2 separate regions of the Homo sapiens genome follow, and region 1 is linked to region 2. The links are contacts of gene promoters, found by promoter capture Hi-C in blood cells and fetal thymus (Javierre and others, 2016). All regions are on one chromosome and are shown on one strand. The core of a region is centred on a gene start or on the middle of the fragment in contact, and the rest is flanking DNA. Distances in the headings are between cores, read along the strand shown.

The links. Contacts are between HindIII fragments. The CHiCAGO score rates a contact against its expected background, and 5 or more counts as called.
Region 1: a fragment that was not itself captured here is called in contact with the fragment with the promoter of EMID1 in region 2 in 1 of 17 cell types (erythroblasts); the score reaches 5.3 in erythroblasts.

Annotation. Positions count from the first base shown.
Region 1 is chr22:29,073,054-29,077,896 of GRCh38, reverse strand. KREMEN1 (kringle containing transmembrane protein 1) reads right to left here. Exons shown (of 9, transcript NM_001039570.3): 1 at 4,670-4,843. The coding sequence starts at 4,766. It also overlaps a transcript of C22orf31 not described here. Among named protein-coding and RNA genes, the nearest start is that of KREMEN1, 2.4 kb to the right of the region's middle. The HindIII fragment of the contact is 566 bases long and covers 2,866-3,431 here.
Region 2 is chr22:29,203,968-29,208,309 of GRCh38, reverse strand. It overlaps EMID1 (EMI domain containing 1), which reads right to left and starts at 2,414. Exons shown (of 15, transcript NM_133455.4): 1 at 2,171-2,414. The coding sequence starts at 2,271. It overlaps LOC101929638 (a long non-coding RNA gene), which reads left to right and starts at 2,478. Exons shown (of 5, transcript XR_938134.3): 1 at 2,478-2,839; 2 at 2,989-3,150. RefSeq lists silencers at 1,980-2,039, 2,060-2,219, 2,230-2,319. The HindIII fragment of the contact is 3,358 bases long and covers 1-2,775 here.

The sequences.
Region 1 (4,843 bases), core at 1,899-4,398, 130 kb after region 2:
TAGTAAAATATTAACATAAAATGTACCATTTTAACCATTTCTCCCATATGTATCTTAAAGTTAGTTAACAGTAAATGGTAAAAGTTTCATTCATTCACCAAAATCAAGCCTCCTTCTCACCTTTTCTAGACCAGTGAACACTGAAAAAAATCAGAAGACATGGACCTTGAACAGAACTCAGCAAAGCACAGCCTGTGGCCCAGATCTGGCTCACTGCCTGTTTCTGTATGGCCCACAAGCTAAGACTTAAAAAATCTATAATTTTAAAAATATTTTAGTTTTGAAAAATCAAATGAACAATATTTTGTTAACATAAAAATTATAGGAAATTCCCAGCCTGGGCAACATGGTGAAACCCCGTCTCTACTAAAAATAAAATACTAGCCAGGCATGGTGATGCATGCCTGTTATCCCAGCTACTTGAGAGGCTGAGGCAGGAGAACTGCTAGAACCCGGGAAGCGGAGGTTGCAGTGAGCCGAGATTGCGCCACTGCACTTCAGCTTGGGTGACAGAGTGAGACTCCGTCTCTTTAAAAAAATAAATAAAAATAGGAAATTCAAATTTCAGTGTCCATAAAGCCTTACTGAAACACTGTCACACCCATTCATTTGTCTTTTGTCTGTGCTGCTTTTGCCCTACAGAGTTGAATAATTGCAACACAGATAGTATAAGGCCCATGAATCTCATATTATTTACTGTCTTCCTCTACAAAAAATGCTTGCCCACACCTGACCTAGATTATCAGTTGACATTTCCAGACTCAAAAATTCTAAACTAAGGATGGTATATTCCCCATCACCAAAAATCCCTAATCTGTATATTGTGAAGCTATTTAAAGCAATATATTTTATCTTACTCATTTATTGCTTTTGGTCTAACTATGCTAAACCATGAGTTTATCAATAATATCTGTATTGATATACAAGAAGTGCATCAACTTTCTGTTTATGAGTAGTGAGCCTAAAAGGAATGCTTTCTTGCTTTAAGATTTATAAAGGGACTCATTGCCTATCTCAAATACTTTTTATTTATTTGTTTATTTTGAAACAGAGTTTTGCTCTTATTGCCCAGGCTGGAGTGCAATGGTGTGATCTCAACTCACCGCTACCTCTGCCTCCTGGGTTCCAGCGATTCTCCTGCCTTAGCCTCCCAAGTAGCTGGGATTACAGGCACGTGCCACCATGCCCGGCTAATTTTTTGTATTTTTAGTAGAGATGGGGTTTCACCATGTTGGCCAGGCTGGCCTTGAACTCCTGACCTCAGGTGATCCGTCTGCCTTGACCTCCCAAAATGCTGGGATTACAGGTGTGAGCCACCGCGCCCGGCCTCAAAGATTTAAATGGTTTGTCTAGGGACTAAAGTATATTTTCACAAAAATATCAGAGGTCTTTGATAGCAGGTCGAAATGGTGTTTCTTAAAATACTCAGAGTATGCAAGTAACTGGTATGCACCCTTCACTCCTTCACTGCTTCAGCCCCCATGTCGCTTACAGGTAATTCTATTAGCATTAATGAAGTCCCCAAGAGAACCAAGAATTGGTAGACAGTATGAAGCTCTAGCTGTTAACTGAACTCATAGGTTTTAGGGCAAACACACTACTGGCTAGTGGGGCAAATTCCAGATGAGGAGGTAGAGGAGAATGAGCATCAGTCTATAAACTTATAAAAGGTATTCACAGCAAACATAACCTGAGTGGAGAAGCTCTGTTGATGTGCACCTAATAGACCCTAAAGGTAGTAAAATACTCAAGTGAGTAGACCATAAATTCCATAAATTCCAGATGGGACCTACTACAGAGAACCTCTCGACCACATGGCCCTGGTTGCACTCCTCCTTGAAGGAAAGTCTAGATTCCATTACCTTCTACTTTCCTTCTTATGAGTTGTGAAGGAAGGAAGAGAATCTTAGAGGAAGAATGAAAAGAAGGGAGATCATTTGGGGTTGGCTACACATTGTAATTAGAAGTAGGATTGATGGGGAATGAGCTAACTGTTTTTATAAAGTCAGCATTCAAAAATGCAAACCACCAGTAATTTAAATATTACAAAATTGTGCAGAATATAAATATTGAAATAATTTTTTCCATCCACAAAATTTTAGAGAAAATTACAGTATCAAAAAATATAAAATGGCAAGTTTGGCATATCCTCAGAGTAAAGTGTGTGTGTGTATGTGTGTGTGTGTATGTGTGTGTGTTTTATTGGGAAGGATTTTAAAAGCTAGTGAGTAGGATCTAGACAGGATGTGTTGGTGAAGACCATGGGGTATCTCCCTAAAATTGCTTCTGCAACTAGACAGGAAAAGTCAAAAAAGCAAAGCACTGAGTTATCAGGACGGTAAGGCACCAAGCTGGCAAGGCTCAGTGAGTTGGGAACTTGGGCCACTTATCACAAATTATTTCACAACGATTATTTGCCCCTACCCCAGACTCCTAAATAAAAGTACACCAAAATTTGGGGTGCAAACTTGATAAGAGATGCTGCATTTGACCTTAAAAAAGCAAAGATATCTGGGAAGAGACTAGCTTCCAACGAGCTTAAGGAGAGTTGGCTCACTTGATGCAAATCAGAGCTGCTGCTCTGCCCTTTCCAGAAGGGGAACCAGTCTATTTCCACCCATACCTCTCTCTTTGTAGGGGACATTAAACCCTGACCACACAGATAGCAAAGTGGAGCTAAGGGGTTACCAGGTTACAGTCATGTTGACATATCCTGGCTCTCGGAATGTCCCTCACTCCTCACAACAGTAGAAGTGATCATACTGTAGAAGTCCCATAAAAGACGGTGATCACTCAGAAACCACTTACTGAGCCTCAGGTTTACAACACTTGGAGACCCCAGTTCTACTAATTTAAAGCCAAGCTTAGCCTTTTACAGAAATGAATCAGACCGAAAGCTCTTAGCATTCCCAGGGTAAATGAGGTGTCTAGCACTCGATGAACTGTGAGGCCCTATAAAAGTATTATTAAAATATGTTTATTGACTCCCTCCTATATGCGGGTATGTTACCTACAGTATATCATTTAATCTTCACAACACTCTGCAAAGAAGTTATCCTGTCTTTACAGATGAGGAAACTGAGGCTCAGAGAGCTGAAGGCATGGCCCAAAGTCACCCAGTAAGTGACAACACCAAGTCCTAGCTTTTTCGCTAATCCAAGCCAATGAGTAAACAAAGCAACTCTGAGTTTTCTTACACCAGCAAAATCCCATCCTTTCCAACATCAGTCTGTGACTTTGGGTGGAGAACCCAGAGGCGGGTTTTCCTACTCCTGCAGACTGGTAATAAACTCTTCCCATCCCTTTCACAAATGGCCTATGCTCAACACCCAAACAGCCTGCAGAGAAATGCAACGCCCTCTTGCCTTCTCTTCCACTTAGAAAGGATTCGGCTACAAGGTTGCGTGTGGAAGTTAAGCAAAAGCCAAGCTTCATCCTGGTCCAGGGCCTCACCTCGGGAAGACCTGGCCTTGGCCTTGGCCTGGGTAGTGAGTGACCTGTCTAAGGTGTGGGCTGACCCAAAACACGGAGCTCGGCGTTGCACCCTCAGGAAGAGCACCCTAAACTCAGTTGGGGAGAAGTTTCCCATCACTGCTTCCTTTTTTCTCTCCCCCTTCTGCGCCATCACCTGAGTCATAGGGAAGTTCAAAGCGGCCCAGCGGAGAGAGAGGGCACGTCCCGTCCGTCTGGGTACAAGGTCGTCCCAGGACCCTAACCTGCCTCTAGCAGGGCGAACAAGTCCATCCCGTTCCTCGCGAGGCAGAAGTTATAATGTCCGCCAAGCGGGTGCAGCCGAGGACTCGGGAAAAGGGGCTGAGCGCCGGCTCCTCCCGCCTCCGCTCTGCTCTGCGCGGGGAGGCGCCGGGTTCCACCGGTGTAGGCGGGAGGAGAGGACTGGGGGACGCGGGGGCGTCGCAGTGAGGCTCAGGGAGGGGACCTTGGCCCAGGGGAGGGATGTCGCTGGAGGTCTCGGAGAGGGGCGTATAGCCTCTTGTAGCGGGGGAGTCGTCCCGGTGCAAGGTGCGTCGATGAAGGACTTGGGGCGGGATCCCAGGAGGTACTGGGGAGCAGGGGTCGTCCCGGCCCGGGAGGGGTCGCTGGGGACTTGGGGACGGGATCCCAGGAGGTACCGGGGAGCAGGGGGCCTCCTGGCCCGTGGGGAGTCGCTGGGGATTTTGGGACGGGATCCTAGGAGGTACCGGGGAGCAGAGGACGTCCCGGCCCGGGGGAAGTCGCTGGGGACTTGGGACGGGATCCCAGGAGGTACCGGGGAGAGGGGGCGTCCCGGCCTGGTTGGGGTCGCTGAGGGACTCGGGCAGCGGGTCCCAGATCCCGAGACAGAGAAGATGTCCCAGCCCGGGGGGCGTCGCAGAGGGTCTTGGAAGACTCAAGGCGGAGAGGGCCTCCTGGGCTGAGGGGCGTCGCTGAGGAGCACCGGGTCCTGCAGCCGGGGGACAGTACCGGGCCCGGGGGCGTCGATGACGGGCCTGGGGGTAGCCCGGGTCCCAGGAAGGGACCATCCCGGCCTGAGGGGCGTCGCCTAGGGGCGAGGGGAAGGGGCCCGGAAGGTCCTGAAGCGGGAGGGAGGGGGCTCTCAGGCCGGCCGGCCCTTGTCGCCCCTCGAGTGGGCTCCGCTCAGGGCGGGCGGCGGGGGGTCGCTCACACTCACCGGGTCCGGGGCCGAGGCCGGGGCTAGGCGCGGGCCGGGCCGCCAGCGTGAGCGCCGCGGCGGAGAGCAGGGCGAGGCGGGCGGCTGGCGGCGCCATGGGCCGTCAGTGCGGGGCCCCGGGGCGCGGCCCGGGGTAAAGGGGGCAGCGCGGGGAGCCGGGGGCGGCCATGGGAG
Region 2 (4,342 bases), core at 1,165-3,664:
GCCTTCCCAGGCCACCCCCTCCCCAGGACAAAGCCTCTTTTCTGCGTCTGGTCCCTTGGCTGCCAAGGGGTGCCTGGGGTGCTGGGGTGTGGGTGGCAGGAAGGCTGACAGGGCATGACACCCCCATGCTGTCTCCAGCAACGTGGGGATGGGGCCACAAGTGGAGGTTCTGGTAGCCCACAGACTCCTCAAGCTCCAGGTCCCTACCCCCATGTGACATGATTGATAGCAGGAACCACTGCAGGTGAGGCCCGGTGCTGGTCCTTCCCACGAGGAAAGAAGGAAACTGAGAGCAAAACTGAGACCCATGGCCAGGAAGTGACCCACTTGAGGTCACACATCAAGCCTGTAAGAGCAAGGAATTCTGTCTCCATTCTGTCCAAGGCTGGAGCCCCTAACTCCTAATCATGACTGCAAACCTTTCCTGGTGCCCCCAAGCCGACAACCTCTTTCCCTCTTCCAGCAAGGCTGCTGGAGAGAAAAAGCCACTGGATTTGGAAATCGACTGGTCTGGACTGAGGTGCCACTTGTCCTCTGTAGGCCTCAGCCTCCGTATCTGTACAATGGGTGCAATAGTGTTGCCCACAGGGTTTTTGGGATGCTCAGGCTACTGTGATAGGCTTCTGTCAACACATGGAGTGACAGTCCCCAGTGACCACCAGATACCTGGTTATAGCCATCATCCTGTTCCCACCCAGGAGACCCTGGGAGGTGAGGAGCCCAGGCTGGGAAGCCCTGCCTTGAACTGGCTGCAGGGCGGTCTGGGCCTTAAGCTGTCGCCACCATCATCCTGAGCCTAACAGTGGGATTTCTGAGTTCATAGTCTCTGTCCTCTTAGCATCTGGGATCCTGGCGGCTCACTTCCATGCTCTGGGCAGGTCATGTTCCCTCTCTGAGCCTCATCTTCCTCCTCTATGAAACAGAATCATAAAGAGCATACCTCCAAGCAGCTGGGAGGATTCTGGAGCTGATGAATGCAGGTAACGGAGCCGACTCAGGCTAACTGTTGTCTGCACACAATAGGTGGTGGCTGTAACATCTGCCACACGTCCACCCCTGTCTCAGACAACTGCTCTTCTGGCCTCTGATGCTTCAACCACCTCCGTCCTCCAGCCCTGCCCATGTCAACTGCTCTTGCTAGCCCAGCAGGGGCATGCTGGCCCCTGACCACTGGGAAAGGAGAATTTCTGAAAAGAATTAAAGAATTGAGGCCGTAGGGGGTGGGGGCCGCGCAGGCCTTTGAATGGGATGAAAAGGCCTGGAGAGGCCTGGCTACTCCACATTGTCTGCCTTGGACAACGGCGGCTGGCCTTTAGGAGGGGACCCTCGCTGGGGCTGCAGCCAGGACAGAGGCCAGGACAGGTTCAAACACTGTCATCAAGGATAGAAGGGCAGATTTGCAACCTAGCTCTTCAGTGAATAGCCCATGAGGCTAAAAGATGATGCCAATTCCCTAGGGTCTCAGTTTGCTTAACCGTTGAATGGGGACAGTTTTCCCTACCTCATTCGGTCCTTCAAGGATTGATGAGGACACTATATATAATAATGGGCCCCACCATGTCAGGTTCTGGGAGCTCCTCCGTAAAGGCCAGCAGGGAGGAGGTTCCCCGCCGCTAGGAGAGCAGAAGGAAGACTGTGCTCCCTCTTTTCTCTGTCCAAAATGCCAGGTCCCTGGGGTATCTCCGACACTGACCCACTGGGCTGTGAGACTCCACCCCAGTCCCTCCTCCGAGGGAGATAAATAGCCTGGGTACAAAACAAACAAACAAAAAACAAAACAAAGCAAAAAAACAGGAACAGGGAAAAGGGGAGAGAGGGTCCGAGAAGAGTCGGCTAGGGGGTGTCATAGGCCTTTCCCAAGTGCAGGGGGAGGGGCCCTAGGGACAGGGGAACAGAAGGGCCAGGGCTTCGCCCTCGTTGCGCCCCTTCCCCCTCCTCTCGAGCTCCTGGGTTGAAAGGGAGGGAGTAGGGGAGGCAGCCAGCTCCGACACATGGAGTAGGGGACCCCGCACTCGCGGGAGCCTCAGCCGGACCGCGGGATGGCCGTGTCCCTGCCCTCACCCGGGCTGGGGACTGGATCGCCCTCCAATCCCAGCCCTTCCTGGAGGTGGGGGCGTGTGCGCGCCGGGACCCTCGGCCAGCGGGGTGCAAAGGCGCCGGGAGCTCTTACCTGCGTCCGGAGAACGGAGCTGCCCCGATGCTCCACGCAGCGCCGCCTCCCGGGAGCAGGAGCCCGAGGCAGAGCAGCGCCCAAGCCCGCGGGCCGCCCATGCTGCACCAGGCGCCCTCCGCGCGCGGCCCCTCGCGGTCGCCGCCCCCAGCCTGTCCTCCCCGCCTGCCTGCCCGCGCCGCCAGCCGCCCCGGACGCGCGGAGCCCGGTTTCCAGCTCCGCGGCCGGAGGGCGGGCAGGAGGCGGGCGGGCGGGGGCGGGGGCGCGCGCTCCCGGCCTCGCCCGGCCCCTCTGCGCTGCCCCCCGCCCCCTGCGCCGCCGCTGCCAACCCGGAAGGAGCCCGGAGGGGCCCGGGCGGCCAGGGCGCCCCCGCCAGGAGGCCCGCCAGGTGTCCACCTGAGCCCCACGCCCTGCGCCGCGGGGCCCTTTTGGGGGCGGGGTGCCAGCTCCGAGGTGTCCTCCCACGGGCTGTAGACTGGGAAACTGAGGCCCGGGCCACGGTCCCAGACGCAGCCGGGACCCGAACCCACCTCACCTGAGCGAATGATATCCGGGACTCATCCTTTTTCGACACCTTTGCGGGATCCAGCCCTCCAAGGAAAGCTTCCTGAGCAGTGCGCGCCACGTGTATTGGGCACCTCACCGCGGCCACTTCACATCCTATCTCAGGTGACTCTTCAAGCCACTCTGCTCGAACTGGGCACAATATCCCCATTTTACAGAAGAGAAAACTGAGGCCCAGGCACTCGCAGTCTCCCTAGGAGGAGATCTGGGCTGACCCCATAAGTGCAGAGTCTGTTCTTATTCTCATTTTACAGGTGGAGAAACTAAGCCACAGAAAGGAGCTGTCATTTACCTAAAGCACCGTGGCAGGGGTTTGGCAGAGCCAGGATTTGTACCCAGATCGCCTGACTTCGGAGAGTAACAGCTCTTAACCACAGCACTTCGGTCTATGCCTTGATTTCACCATATGTAACAAGGTAAGAATTGGTGTTGGGTGGTTTCATCTGGGGTACATGGATGGGCTTCTGGAGGAATGGCTCTACATCCCACAAAGGTATATGTAAGCGTAGTGTGTGTGTGCAGGGGTGCATGTGTGTGTCGTATGTGTGTATGATGGATGTGTGTGCATGCTTGATGTGGATTTATGTGCATGTGTGTTATGTGTGTGTCTGTGATAGGAGTGTGTGTTTATAGGGAGAGACCAGAGCTCTCATCAGAGGGGACCCAGACCCCCAATCTCCCAGGGCAGTCTCTAACCCCGCCTTCTGCCTGGATCGATGGGCAGTAGTTAGGCCTGGGCTGGGGAAGCCCTTGCCCAGCTTGGCTACTTCCTGTTATGGCTTGTCCAGACCCACGGTCCCTTCTAGAAACACTCCCCAGAAAGGATCTGCCAGTCACTGGATTGCCCCTCCTGGACTCACCAGGGGCAGGCAGCATAGGCCACCATAGGCAGGCAGGCAGGCAGGACGGGGGATCCATCACCAGTGTGTCCACATAGAGAAAGCTGTTGCCCTGTCCCAAGGGACAGGTAGTGAGAGCTGGGTTCAAACCCTGCCTCTGCTACTTCTGCTCCAGTTAGCTCAGGCAAGTCTTGCCCCTCTCGCAGCCTCAGTGTTTCTTTTGCAGGGAGGACAGTTGTACATTCGTTACAGGAGTGTGGGAAGGATTGAGATATCATGGTAATGGCCTGTCACCCACTCTCCCCTACTTCACATAGTCCCCCAAGGGCTCCCTCTCCCTCCAGCGACATCACCATGGTGCCAATGTTGCCCCCTTGGGGAGCTGTTGCCCTCCTTTTCACGTGAAATTTTGGCACATCTCCTGTGCCATCTCTCTGACCTCCAAGAAATGCAGCTTTGTACCTCTCTGGTTAGCCCTTGTTTTTGACACAGCTAGATCAGTGACTTAACACCCTGGATAATTCGTCACTCCTGAGGAGCCATGCCCCCAAGAGGATGCCAGGCCTGTCTGAAACCCCAATCAAGCGGCCCAGATAAAAACCCATCACCCCAGGGGTGCTTTGAGCTGTTTAGGAAGCTCAAACATGCAGCTGTTTAGGAAGGAGAAGCACTGGATAATGCCTTGGAGGGACTGAGAGGTGTCTAGGGTGTCAGATGGGTGCCACAGAATGAGGAGGCACTACTAGGTCTGTTTGCAACATGTCTGAGA